3 separate regions of the Homo sapiens genome follow, and all the other regions are linked to region 2. Evidence: promoter capture Hi-C in 16 types of primary human blood cells and fetal thymus (Javierre and others, 2016). All regions are on one chromosome and are shown on one strand. The core of a region is centred on a gene start or on the middle of the fragment in contact, and the rest is flanking DNA. Distances in the headings are between cores, read along the strand shown. Region 1 holds the start of HTR3D (5-hydroxytryptamine receptor 3D). Region 2 holds the start of ABCF3 (ATP binding cassette subfamily F member 3). Region 3 holds the start of HTR3C (5-hydroxytryptamine receptor 3C).

The links. The method cuts DNA at HindIII sites, captures the fragments that hold promoters and counts their contacts. A CHiCAGO score of 5 or more calls a contact.
Region 1: the fragment with the promoter of HTR3D here is called in contact with the fragment with the promoter of ABCF3 in region 2 in 8 of 17 cell types (megakaryocytes, neutrophils, endothelial precursors and 5 more); the score reaches 9.9 in megakaryocytes.
Region 3: the fragment with the promoter of HTR3C here is called in contact with the fragment with the promoter of ABCF3 in region 2 in 15 of 17 cell types (M1 macrophages, neutrophils, erythroblasts and 12 more); the score reaches 16.3 in M1 macrophages.

The regions. Positions count from the first base shown.
Region 1 is chr3:184,029,760-184,034,201 of GRCh38, forward strand. It overlaps HTR3D (5-hydroxytryptamine receptor 3D), which reads left to right and starts at 1,983. Exons shown (of 8, transcript NM_001145143.1): 1 at 1,983-2,048. The coding sequence starts at 1,983. The HindIII fragment of the contact is 12,637 bases long and covers 1-4,442 here.
Region 2 is chr3:184,184,670-184,188,905 of GRCh38, forward strand. ABCF3 (ATP binding cassette subfamily F member 3) reads left to right here and starts at 1,530. Exons shown (of 21, transcript NM_018358.3): 1 at 1,530-1,611; 2 at 1,838-1,985; 3 at 2,127-2,206; 4 at 2,728-2,774; 5 at 2,995-3,092; 6 at 3,192-3,314; 7 at 3,472-3,738; 8 at 4,092-4,172. The coding sequence starts at 1,539. RefSeq lists enhancers at 323-1,037, 1,515-1,834. The HindIII fragment of the contact is 6,180 bases long and covers 1-4,236 here.
Region 3 is chr3:184,050,457-184,054,818 of GRCh38, forward strand. It overlaps HTR3C (5-hydroxytryptamine receptor 3C), which reads left to right and starts at 2,591. Exons shown (of 9, transcript NM_130770.3): 1 at 2,591-2,691; 2 at 4,265-4,362. The coding sequence starts at 2,625. RefSeq lists an enhancer at 3,146-4,345. The HindIII fragment of the contact is 4,846 bases long and covers 1,857-4,362 here.

The DNA.
Region 1 (4,442 bases), core at 733-3,232, 150 kb before region 2:
AGCACTTTGGGAGGCCAAGGCAGGCAGATCACCTAAGTTTGGGAGTTTGAGACCAGCCTGACCAACATGGAGAAACCCCATCTCTACTAAAACAAAACACAAAAAATACAAAAAAATTAGCTGGGCGTCAGCCATCCCATTACTGGGTATATACCCAAAGGATTATAAATCATGCTGCTATAAAGACACATGCACATGTATGTTTATTGCAGCATTATTCACAATAGCAAAGACTTGGAACTAACCCAAATGTCCATCAATGATAGACTGGATTAAGAAAATGTGGCACATATATATCATGGAATACTATGCAGCCATAAAAAAGGATGAGTTCATGTCCTTTGTAGGGACATGGATGAAGCTGGAAACCATCATTCTGAGAAAACGAGCGAGGACAGAAAACCAAACACTGCATGTTCCCACTCATAGGTGGGAATTGAACAATGAGAACACTTGGACACAGGGTGGGGAACATTACACACTGGGGCCTGTCATGGGGTGGGGGGAGCGGGGAGGGATAGCAATAGGAGATATACCTAATGTAAATGACGAGTTAATGGGTGCAGCACACCAACATGGCACATGTATACATATGTAACAAACCTGCACGTTGTGCACATGTACCCTAGAACTTAAAGTATAATAAAAAAATGAAAAAAAAATTATCTGGGCTTTGTGGTGCATGCCTGTAATTCCAGCTACTCGGGAGGCTGAGGCAGGATAATCGCTTGAACCCGGGAGGCAGAGGTTGTGGTGGGCCAAGATCGCGCCATTGCACTCCAGCCTGGGCAGCAAGAGAGAAACTCCATTTAAAAAAAAAAATCATAAGTCAGCTTTTATTTTAAAAAAGTATTACCTCTGCCACCACCCCCTACTCCACTAATCACTCCCTTCATTGGGTAGACCTGGGTCCAGATTGCTTTTGAAACACTAAAAAGGCATAGCAAATCAGCTTTGAGAAGAGGAAGCAGAAATATGTCATCACTGGAGCAGTGCTAATGGCTTCCTCATACTTTAAAGTCTTAACTATACTGAAGTCATGTTTAAAACCTCAGTGTATGAAGTTGCTTATATTAATAGGGACCCCCCTCCCCCCAACACGCTTTCTTTTTTGAAAGATGGCAGTAGGGGGCCGGGCATGGTAGCTCACGCTTGTAATTCCAGCACTTTGGGAGCCAAGGTGGGCAGATCACCTGAGGTCAGGAGTTTGAGGCCAGCCAACCAACATGGTAAAACCTCGTCTCTACTAAAAATACAAAAACTTAGCCAGGCATGGTGGCAGGCGCCTGTAATCACAGCTACTTGGGAGGCTGAGGCAGGAGAATCGATTGAACCCGGGAGGCGGAGGTTGCAGTGAGCCAAGACTGCACCATTGCACTCCAGCCTGGGAGACAGAGGGAGACTCCGTCGCAAAAAAAAAAAAGGAAGGGAGGGAGGGAGGGAGAAAGAGAGAGAGAGGGAGGGAGGGAGAGAGAGAGAGAGAGAGAGAGAAGGAAAGAAAGAAAAAAGAAAGAAAAAGAGAAAGAGAAAGAAAGAGAAAGAAAGAAAAAGAAAGAGAAAAGAAAGAAAGAAAGAAGAAAGGAAAAGAAAAGAAAGAAAGATGACAGCAGGGTCTAACAAGTTCACGTGCCACCTGGAGGCAGTGGTAGTCATCCATGCCTTCTCGGTGAGGCACTGTACGCCAGAGTGACTTTAAAGTATGAGGAAGCCATTAGCACTGCTCCAGGGACCACATATTTTTGCTTCCTCTTCTCCAAACTGATTTGCCATATTACTTTTGGAGGCTAGATTCAGGCCCAGTTAAAGCACAGGGTGAGTTATTCCTCTGTGACATTCTTTTGTCACCAAGGGGTCTTGTTAGAGAGGCGGTTAATGCCAGCTGATATATATATTATTCAAAGGTAGGGCTCAAGGTGTGATCTGAGGTTTTTTAAAGGTTAACATCATCATCAAGTACCCAGAGAAGTGCCAAAGAGAGGAAGATGGAAAGAGGCTGGTTCCATGGGAAAGGATTCCTCCTTGGCTTCATCCTCCACCTGCTGCTGCAAGTACCTTAAGATAAGAGCAAGAGCTGAGCAGACATGTAACTCCTGGGAAGCAGAGAAAACAGGCTAATATTTTTTATTCTGAGATAGTCAATGATTGGATGTTCGTTATGGTAAAAATGATGCTCGTGACACTGATGGCTTTGTACCTCTTCCTAGGATCCTAATATTTAGTTAACTCTTTTCTCTTCTTTTTTTTTTTTTTTTTGAGATGGAGTCTCGCTCTGTTACCCAGGCTAGAGTGCAGTGGCAATATCTCAGCCCATTGCAACCTTCACCTCCCAGGTTCAAACGATCTCATGCCTCAGCCTCCCAAGTAGCTGGGATTACAGGCACCTGCCACCGTGCCTGGCTAATTTTTGTATTTTTAGTAGAGATGGGGTTTCACCATGTTGGCCAGGCTGGTCTTGAATGCCTGTCCTCAGGTGATCTGCCCGCGTGGGCCTCCCAAAGTGTTGGGATTACAGGCGTGAGCCCCTGAGCCCAGCCTGGGAACTCTTTAAGATAATCCTAGTGATGAAGACTACTAAATGTTAGAACAATCACAGCACATAGTAAAGACACAGTAAATACTCATCAAATTGAAAAACTGAAATTGATTTGTTTCCTTAAGATCCCATATATCTCACACTACCTATCTGATTACTCCCCTTATCATTAATTTATTAGCATCTATGCCATATTAATACAGCGAGGCGGAGAACTGTGAGTGCAAAATTTGTCACTGACATCACCCACATGGCTCCAGGTTGGAGGTAAGCAAGAGAAGGACACTGGCAGAAGGTGGAGAGGTTGCAGTGAGATTGTTAAGGACATGGCAGGACACTGTAAAGTGGCGGTCGGGGTTGAGTTTGCATACACATCTGGACAGGTTTTGCATGGGGACAAAACAATGGCACTGAGGATGGATCCTTGACTCAGCTCACCTCATCAGTTTCCACCATTTGCCTACCAGCTCAGCCTACTCTTCCTGGACCAGGAAGGAGGAGCTCACATGCTTCTCCCAGTGCCCCCTGTTTTCTCTCCATGCAGAAACACTCTCCAGGCCCCCCAGCCCTGGCCCTCCTCTCTCAGTCTCTGCTCACTACAGGAAATGGCGACACTTTGATTATCAATTGCCCAGGCTTTGGCCAGCACAGGGTGGACCCTGCAGCCTTTCAAGCAGTGTTTGACAGAAAGGCTATTGGTCCAGTCACCAACTACAGTGTCGCCACTCATGTCAACATCTCCTTCACCTTGTCTGCCATCTGGAAGTTGTAAGTCCTCACCCAACATTGCAGTGGTCTAGTGGTGAGCAGTGGACCCTCTGACTGGATTTTTTTTTTTTTTTTTTGAGATGGAGTCTTGCTCTTGTCACCCAGGCTGGAGTGCAGTGGTGCAATCTCAGCTCACTGCAACCTCTGCCTCCCAGTTTCAAGCGATTCTCCTGCCTCAGCCTCCGGCACGTGCTGCCCCACCCAGCTAATTTTTGTATTTTTAGTAGAGACAGGGTTTCACCATGTTGGCCAGGCTGGTCTCAAATTCCTGACCTCAGGTGATCCACCTGCCTTGGTCTCCCAAAGTTCTGGGATTACAGGCATGAGCCACCGTGCCTGGCCCTTTGATTGGATTTTGTAAAATTAGTTACTCACAACAAAAAAATCAAACAACCCAATTCAAAAATGGGCAAAGGACTTGAATAGACATTTCTGCAAAGAAGAAATACAAACAGCCAATAAGCACAAGAAAAGGTGTATGTTCAATGTTACTAATAGTTAAGAAAATGCAGATCAAAGCTACAGTAAGATATCTCACACCCACTAGGATGGCTAGTATTAAAAAACAAACAGAAGCTGGGCGAGGTGGCTCATGCCTGTAATCTCAGCACTTTGGGAGGCTGAGGCGGGTAGATCACGTGAGGTCAGGAGTTCAAGACCAGCCTGACCAACTTGGTGAAACCCCATCTCTACTAAAAATACAAAAATTAGCTGGGCGTGTTGGTGGGCACCTGTAATCCCAGCTAGTCGGGAGGAGGAGACAGGAGAATTGCTTGAACCCAGGAGGCAGAGGTTGCAGACAGCCAAGATTGTGCCACTGCACTCTAGCCTGGGTGACAGAGCAAGACTCTGTCTCAAAAAAACAAAACAAAACAAAATTAAAAAACCAGAAAATAACAAGTGTTGGTGATAATGTGGAGAAATTGGAACCCTTGTGCACTGCTTGTGAGGATGTAAAATTGTGTAGCCACTGTGGAAAAACAGTATGGCTTTTTCTCAAAATATTAAAAATAGAATTACCATACAACCAAATAATTATACTTCTGGATAAATACCCGAAAAAAGTGAAAACGGGGTATTTGTACACTTATGTTCATAGCAGAATTACTCACAATAGTTAAAACTCAGAAGCAGTCTAAGT
Region 2 (4,236 bases), core at 280-2,779:
GGAGGCCGAGACGGGTGGATCACCCGAGGTCCGGAATTCGAGACCAGCCTGACCAACATGGGGAAACCTCGTCTCTACTAAAATTACAAAATTAGCCGGGCGTGGTGGTGCATGCCGGTAATCCCAGCTATTCGGGGGCTGAGGCAGGAGAATCGCTCGAACCCAGGAGGTGGAGGCTGCGGTGAGCCAAGATCACGCCACTGTACTCCAGCCTGGGCAACAAGAGCGAAACTCCTTCTCAAATTAAAAAAAAAAAAAAAAAGAATATAATGAATCTCCATGTCTCATCACCCAGCTTCAACTATGATCAATGCGTGGCCAGTTCCTTAATATCACATCCAGTTTGTGTTCACTTAACCAGGTGTCTTATCAAATTTTTCCAGATAAGGTCCATTGTGGTTGGTTAATGCTCCTCAAATTTTAAAAATTGATGTTTCCCTTCAGGTCTTGCAATTTTGTGGAAGAAACCAGAGTTCTGTAGTTTACCACATCAGAATTTGCCTGTTGTCCCCATGAAGTCACTTAACATATTCCTCTTTACCTGTATTTCCTGTAAAATGGTTCAATATCGGGATTGATGCCTCATGATGGCAATGTTTAATCCAAAGGGATGAATGGGTAATAATGTAATTTTCGGTGCCACTTTTAGAGACCAATTGGAGGAATATTCACGTTAAATATAAAGCAGTAGCATCATTTTGGAGGAAATTCCTAACTTCCCGAGGGAATCGGTGAAAGGAAATAGCCTTTTATTGGCATTTATTGAGTGCAGAGAAGTCTGCTCAGGGTGTAGGTAGGGAATAATTTATACAGGCCACGTTGTCCTGGTTTTCTTGCCCTTTGGCGGTGGATTTGGTCGTGCCCTGGGGTGGTGGAAGAACTGAATGGGCTTAATTCACAAAGGTCGGCTGAATTACACAGTGAAAAGGCGGTCGCGGCGGGGAGGCGGGTGGCGCTGGCCACCAGGCTGAGAAGCCCGTAGGGTCTGGGGACCCGCGAAAGCAAAGCACTGAGCAGGGGGCTTCTGAGAGTCAGGGACCGGGGTGAGTCAGCAAAGCTCTGGGCAGGCTCCAAAATGGGCCTGACTGGGTACGCACCAGCAGCAGACGCGCCTCGAGGGAGCGCATAAAACCTGGCAAAGCCAAAGTGCTTTATCAGCCGCCTGCCTCTTGGGAGGCTCCCACCCGCCAGACCACGGGTGCCTCGCGGCCCCGATAAACCTTGAGCTCCCAGCCTTTGCCCCACCCCTCGCTCCCGGAACTCCACCTCCCAGAAGGCAGCGAGAACCGCACATGTGGCTAATCTTTCAGCGGAAAAGGTGTCGCGCACGCGCAGAGAGCGCGGCTCCGGCGCAGACTCGGCGCCTCTCCTCAAGGCCCCGCTCGCCCCGCCCACCGGGCTCTGCGCACTCCGCTCCTTTCCTGCGTCACCGCTACACATGCGCCTTGCAAGGAAGGGCGAGATTTCGGGGGCAGGGCGGGGGGCGGGCCTAGGCCGGGGTCTCACAGCGACTGCGCGGACGGGTTCCTGAGTGGAACATGGCGACTTGCGCCGAAATCCTGCGGAGCGAGTTCCCCGAAATTGACGGACAAGTCTTCGACTACGTGACCGGTAAGCAGAACTGAATCGGCCGGCTGGGGAGACCGAAGTGGAGGCCGGGGGAAAGTCTAAGCGAGCGTCGTGCCCGGGACTGTTGCCAGGCCTCTCCTCTGCATGACCTCTTGTCCCGGGGGCTGGTTGGGTCTGGAGCCTGGACTGGGGCCTCTGTCTGGGGTCTGAAACTGCTTGTGTGTCCACCCTACCCGATACCTTCCTCGTTCTACCACGCCCTGCCCAGGCGTCTTGCACAGCGGCAGCGCGGACTTCGAGTCTGTGGATGACCTGGTGGAAGCTGTAGGGGAACTATTGCAAGAGGTGTCCGGGGACAGCAAGGATGACGCGGGCATCAGGGCCGTGTGCCAGCGCATGTACAACACTCTGCGTCTGTATGTGCCAGGGAGTAGGGGTTGATGGGGGCGAAGGGACGGCGAACGGTCCGGAGACAAGAGGTGGGGGAGGAAGATCTGATGGCCATAGAGCTTTTCCCTCAACTCCTAACTCTGCGCTTTCTATCCCTACCCACATAGGGCTGAGCCACAAAGCCAGGGAAATAGCCAGGTGCTACTGGACGCCCCTATCCAGTTGTCAAAGATAACGGAGAACTACGGTGAGAGTGAGGGGAGGTTGAACTAACTGCCCCCCTGTGCTTTTCTCCGCCCCCAACCATCTGCTGCCTGCAGCTTAGGGCTCCTACGTCTTTTCCACAGGACAAGGTTGTAGGAGCTAGTTGATGTCTTTACCGAGGGCAGAAGAGCCCATGATGGGGGTGGGGAGGAGGTTGGAGGGTTCTCCCTCCAAGCTCTTGGGTAGGATAGGAAGCATAAGAGCCTGGAGCTGGACAGACTTGCTTTCACCCCCAGTTTTGCAACTTGCTAACCAGCTGCATGATCTTGTAAGAGTTGGTTATCTGTCCCCAGCCTTGTCTATGCCTCTGTATCCTTCTACGTGAGTTTTGTTTTGTTTTGTTTTGTTTTGTTTTTAGTGCAGGGAAGATAATAGCCATCTATCTGCAGTATTATAAGGTTTTGTAGAAAACATCTGTGTCTGTGCCTGGTTCCTATTAGTCACTCAAAATGTTAGTTTCCCTTCCCTCAGGGAGAAGGTGACTGCTTTTCTTATCGCTTACAGACTGTGGAACCAAACTTCCAGGACTGCTAAAGAGGGAACAGTCCTCGGTGAGGAGGAGGAAGCAAGGGAGGGGACTGTCTGTGATGGGGTTGGGAGTTGACTGTCTAATTGGAGTATCTTTTGGGGGGATTTCTGACTATGTCTTTTCCTGAGCCTTTGAGTCTGTTCATCATGGGTAAGTTAAGAGGGTTTACTCGAGATGTTCTCTCTTGGGGTTCCTTTCTGAGCCTACACCCGAGAGTGAAGTCGATGTGTTTGGACCCTTAGACAGTGAATGCAAAGAAGTTAGAGAAGGCCGAGGCTCGACTTAAGGCAAAGCAGGAGAAGCGCTCAGAGAAGGACACGCTCAAGACCAGCAACCCTCTGTGAGTGGGGGAAGCATGGCTCAGAAGAGAGCAGAGCAGCTTTTGCCTGGACAGAAGGTGGTGGGGAGCACTAAGAGCTGTCCATTTCTCCCTTTAAAGAGTCTTAGAAGAGGCATCAGCCAGCCAGGCAGGCAGCAGAAAGGAGAGTCGGTTGGAATCATCTGGCAAGAACAAATCCTATGATGTGCGAATTGAGAACTTTGATGTGTCTTTTGGCGATAGGTGAGGGAATAGTGGTGGCAGGGGTTGGCTTTCTTTTTCTAATTAGAGGACAATTTGGAGAGGTGAAACGGGGCTATAAACAATGTTAGGTTTGTCATTAAACTTGCTGTGCACCTATTTCTAGAGCATCTTTGGTCTCCTTTCTCCACTCCTGCAGAGTACTGCTGGCTGGAGCGGATGTGAACCTGGCATGGGGCCGCCGTTACGGGCTGGTGGGGCGGAATGGGTTGGGGAAGACAACGTTACTGAAGATGCTGGCCACCCGGAGTCTGCGGGTTCCAGCCCACATTTCCCTGCTGCACGTTGAGCAAGAGGTTGCTGGAGATGACACTCCTGCCCTGCAGAGTGTGCTGGAGAGTGACAGTGTGCGAGAGGATTTGCTACGGAGGGAGCGGGAGCTCACTGCCCAGATTGCTGCTGGCAGGTGAGGACTCCCGGCTAGGGAGTAACTAGCAGCCGCTGTCGCTTACAGAGCGCCTGCCGTCCTGGAACAATCCATAATTTGCATGTACATCCTAGTAATCAGCAGAGCTTAGAACTTGGCACTCTGGGACTCAGAAGCCCTTGTTCTTTCCACAGTGCCCATTGCCCTTTCTTGTTCTTTCCACAGTGCCCATTTCCATAGTGCCCAAGGTAATGAGCACTGTGCAAACCCTTCCTGTATTCTCTTCCTCTTCCAGCCACAAGGTAGCCAATGGCCTTTCCAACGGTATAGGGTGCAGGACATCCTCCTAGACTGCCCCTGCTTAGGCCAATTGCTGTTTCTCCTCCCTCCAGGGCGGAGGGCTCTGAAGCTGCAGAGCTGGCAGAAATCTATGCCAAACTGGAGGAGATTGAGGCTGACAAGGCACCTGCCAGGTATTTAAAGCTCCCCCTCCCTCCTTCAGATTTCCTTTCCCTTCTGTGGACTGTTCCAACTGAG
Region 3 (4,362 bases), core at 1,341-3,840, 130 kb before region 2:
TGTGTCAGCCAGTACCTTATGTTGCAGATGCTAACATGTCTCCCAGCTGAACCCTTTCAAGTCATGAAGGAGAGCTCTAAACCATGAGCAGTTTTCCTTCCTTCTTTCCTTTATTTCTTTCTCCTTCCTTCCTTCCTGCCTTCCTGCCTTCCTTCTCTCTCTCTCTCTCACTCCTTCCTTCCTTCCTTCCTACCTTCCTTTTTTTTGAGACGGAGTCACGCTCAAGTGCAGTTGCGTGATCTCGGCTCACTGCAACCTTCACCTCCCGGGTTCAAGTCATTCTCCTGCATCAGCCTCCTGAGTAGCTCGTGTCTTTCTCCCTCCCTTCCTTCTCTTTCTCTTTCTCTTTCTTTCTCTTTCCTTCCTTCTCTCTCTCTTTCTCTTTCTTTCCCTTTCTCCCTTCCCCTTCCCCTTCCCCTTCCCTTCCCTTCCCTCCCCTCCCCTCCCCTCCCCTCCCCTCCCCTCCCCTTCCCTTCCCTTCCCTTCCCTTCCTTTCCCTTCCCTTCCCCTTTCTTACAGGGTCTTGCTCTGTTGCTCAGGCTAGAGCATAGTGGCACCATTATGGCTCACTGCAGCCTTCACTTCCTGGGCTGAAGCAATTCTCTCACCTCAGCATCCCAAGTAGTGAGAACTATAAGCACATGTCACCACACCTGGCTCCTTTTAAAAATTACTTTTTAGCCGGGTGCGGTGACTCAGACCTGTAATCCCAGTAATTTGGGAGGCTGAGGCGGGTGGATCACGACGTCAAGAGCTCAAGACCATCCTGGCCAACATGGTGAAACCCCGTCTCTACTAAATATACAAAAATCAGCTGGGCGTGGTAGCGCGTGCCTGTAGTCCCAGCTACTCGGGAGGCTGAGGCAGAGAATCGCTTAAACCCAGGAGGCAGAGGTTGCAGTGAGCCGAGATTGCGCCACTGCACTCCAGCCTGGGTGACAGAGTAAGACTCTGTCTCAAAAAAAAAAAAAATTACCTTTTGTAGAGATGGGGTCTCACTGTGTTGCCTAGGCTGGTCTCAAACTCCTGGGCTCAAGCGGTCTTCCTGCCTCGGCCTCCCAAAATGTTGGGATTACAGGCATGAGCCACCGTGCCTGGCCTGGAGCAGGTTTTCTAGCAATTCCTCTGTTCCCTTCTATTCCTCCCTTTCTCACTCCTTCCACTCCAGTACTTCTAGCCACCTTTCTGCCTCTCTTTCTCCCCTCTTTGATTCTTTCTTTCCCTTCAACCTCTGGCTCAAGTTGGCCAAGTTTCCAAGTCAGGGAAGAAATTACTTGCAGAGGTGGTAGGTCTGAAGGACTGCAGCTACCGCAAACCTCAAATGGAATCCACTGCAGCCCTCTCCTGTGCCTTCCTACTTTGGGCCTCTAAGTCATTCCTGCATTTCTCAGCACTTTCTACTTAGGGCTGTCATGATCACTAATTCTGAACAAAGTTTTTTTTGTATTCTACATCTGGCCCTTCACCCTTTCTGCAAGGAAAAACTGTCCAAGTCTTTCTGGAAACGTAGCTAAGATACTTGAAATAAAAATGCTCCAATTCATTCATTTGAGCCAATTTTTTTTAATAGGAATGTGGTGACATAAGACATAATATTAACACATGCCAATGATATTGATGTTAGCTGAGATTACTAGTTTACAATAATGCTATATATTAACACTATTGACAGCACAAAGTGTTACTATCTTAATTTTATGAGTTCTATTATCATGTAATCAGTGCATAGCCTAAAAATTATACGGAGAACATTGGTTTGGAGAGAATAAATCAGAAAGGCAGAGACGCTGTAAAGAGGAAATCTAGTTAGGGGCTACTGGAAAAGCATAGACACTAGATGATGAAGGTATGAACCAAGCTTTATAATTTGGCATTTGGAATAATTCCAATGTCAACAAAAGCTGTAAGATACTTTGGTAAGGGGGCCGGGCGCGGTGGCTCACGCCTGTAATCCCAGCGTTTTGGGAGGCTGAGGTGGGTGGATCACGAGGTCAGGAAATCGAAACCATCCTGGCTATCACAGCGAAACCCCGTCTCTACTAAAAATACAAAAAATTAGGCGGGTGTGGTGGCACACACCTGTAGTCCCAGCTACTCAGGAGGCTGAGGCAGGCAGGAGAATCGCTTGAACCAGGCAGGTGGAGGTTGCAGTGAGCCAAGATCGTGCCACTGCACTCCAGCCTGGGTGACAGAGAGAGACTCTGTCTCAAAAAAAAAAAAAAAGATACTTTGGTATTCATAACCAAATCACTAAGTATTGCACCTGGTCTTGGTGCACACAGATTCCCTGGTCTTGGAAGCACACAATCCTAATTTCCCCAGCCTACATTCTCTCATTAAGGCACGTTATTTTGTTTTGGATCTCAGCACACAGCTGCCAAATAGAATGCTTTTCCCCTAGTGTCCGCCCAATTTCCTGCCTGCCTGGAGCCCGGAAGGTGCATCTGGGCAGAGCCAATGCAGGACACTTGGCTGGGACCTCTCTGGTCACAGGCTGTCACAGGGAGTGGTCACTTGCCATGAGTAGTATTCAAAACCAGCAACCAGGGTGTGGTCTGAGCTCCTTTAAGCTCCAGGGTTTGGGAGCTCCTGGTGAATCCCCAGAGAAGAGTCCAGAAAGAAGAATGGAAGGAGGGTGGCCTGCAAGGCAGAGTGCCCTCCTCTGCCTCACTGTCAGTCTTCTGCTTCAAGGTAAGATGGGACGAGAACAGGGAAGACCAGAGTGTGGTTCCGAGGGACACCTGGACTCACCTCTAGCACTTGGAGGGCATTCAGAATTAATGTGTTAAATATTTCTTCCATAATGTCTGTGTCCTGATTTCCTTTTGGTGACAGATAGAAAGACAGTTCACTGATGAGTGCACACAGACTTTCTCTGTTCCTGCCTGCACAGGGATCTATCAAACTGTCTCATTTCACCACTTCTCCAATTCCACCTTTTCACTGACTTCTGATGCTCCACTACCACACCCTTCTTCCCCCTCTCCTTGTCTCTGTTTCTCCTGACATGATATCTATGAGAAGAGTAGCCACTGATTTTAAACATGCCCTGAGGGAGGGGACAATCTGAGGTGGAAATGAGCAGATATTTTGCTTCCATGAGGTAATATTTGTTCCCAATCTGGACACATACCTTAAATATTATGGAAAGAGATGGAGATAGAGAGAAGGAGGCAGAGAAAAGGACCATATAATGATGGCGATGGAGCAAAGATGCCACTCAGGTACTACCCAGATGACTCCCTGGCCATGGCCGAGAGACAATATCTGCACCGGCCTCACTTTGTGGTTTTGTTGTTGTTGTTGTTTGTTTTTTGACATGAAGTGTCGCTCTGTCGCCCAGGCTGGAGTGCAGTGGCACGATCTTGGCTCACTGCAACCTCCGCCTCTCGGGTTTGAGCGATTCTCCTGCCTCAGCTTCCTGAGTAGTTGGGATTACAGGCGAGCGCCACTATGCCCAGCTAATTTTTGTATTTTTAGTAGAGATGGGGTTTCACCATGTCGGCCAGGATGGTCTCGATCTCTCGACCTTGTGATCCGCCCACCTCGGCCTCCCAAAGTGCTGGGATTACAGGCGTGAGTCACCGCGCCCGGCACACCGGCCTCACTTTGTGACTGAACAAATGCTGTATGCTCAGTGATGTCACCTCATGATCCCGATGCTAGAAATAACCCACGAGACAACTGAGGTCACTAAATCTGAGAAGAGCAAAATAAATGCATAGCACCAAGGTAAGCACCCAGTCAGATACCTACCGTGTTTCTCATATCTACCTGGTGAGTGCAGTTGTGTAAAATGTCTCTTATCCTCTTGATAAATCAGTTCTTGCCTTCAGTAGACTTAAGATCCTAAGAGTTAGAGAGAGAAATACATTAGCATCGATTTTTAGGTGACTTGGACCACAAGTTTTGGGCAGTTCTACTGCTAGGTGAGCCAAGAGTCTTGTGATGGGTACATTAAAGGACTCCTGGAAGTAGCTGCCATTGCACTTAGGCCAAGTTTTCATACAGATTTGGGCAAACTTTGCATGAGGATGAAGCAATGGGAATGAGAATAGAGCCCTGACCTCAGCTCACCACATCCACTTCCACCATTTGCCTACCAGCCCAGCCCATCCTCCCCAACCATGGCCTTGGGGAGTCTTGGCATGGGAAGGAGGGGCTCACCTGCTCCTCTCAGTACGTCCCCTATTTTATCTCTCTGCAGAGAGACTCCAGCCCTGGAAATAGAGTCCCTCTCTCACGGAGTCTCTGCTCTCTATAGGAAGAGGCGACGCTTTTACCATCAATTGCTCAGGCTTTGACCAGCATGGGGTTGACCCTGCTGTCTTCCAAGCAGTGTTTGACAGAAAGGCCTTCCGT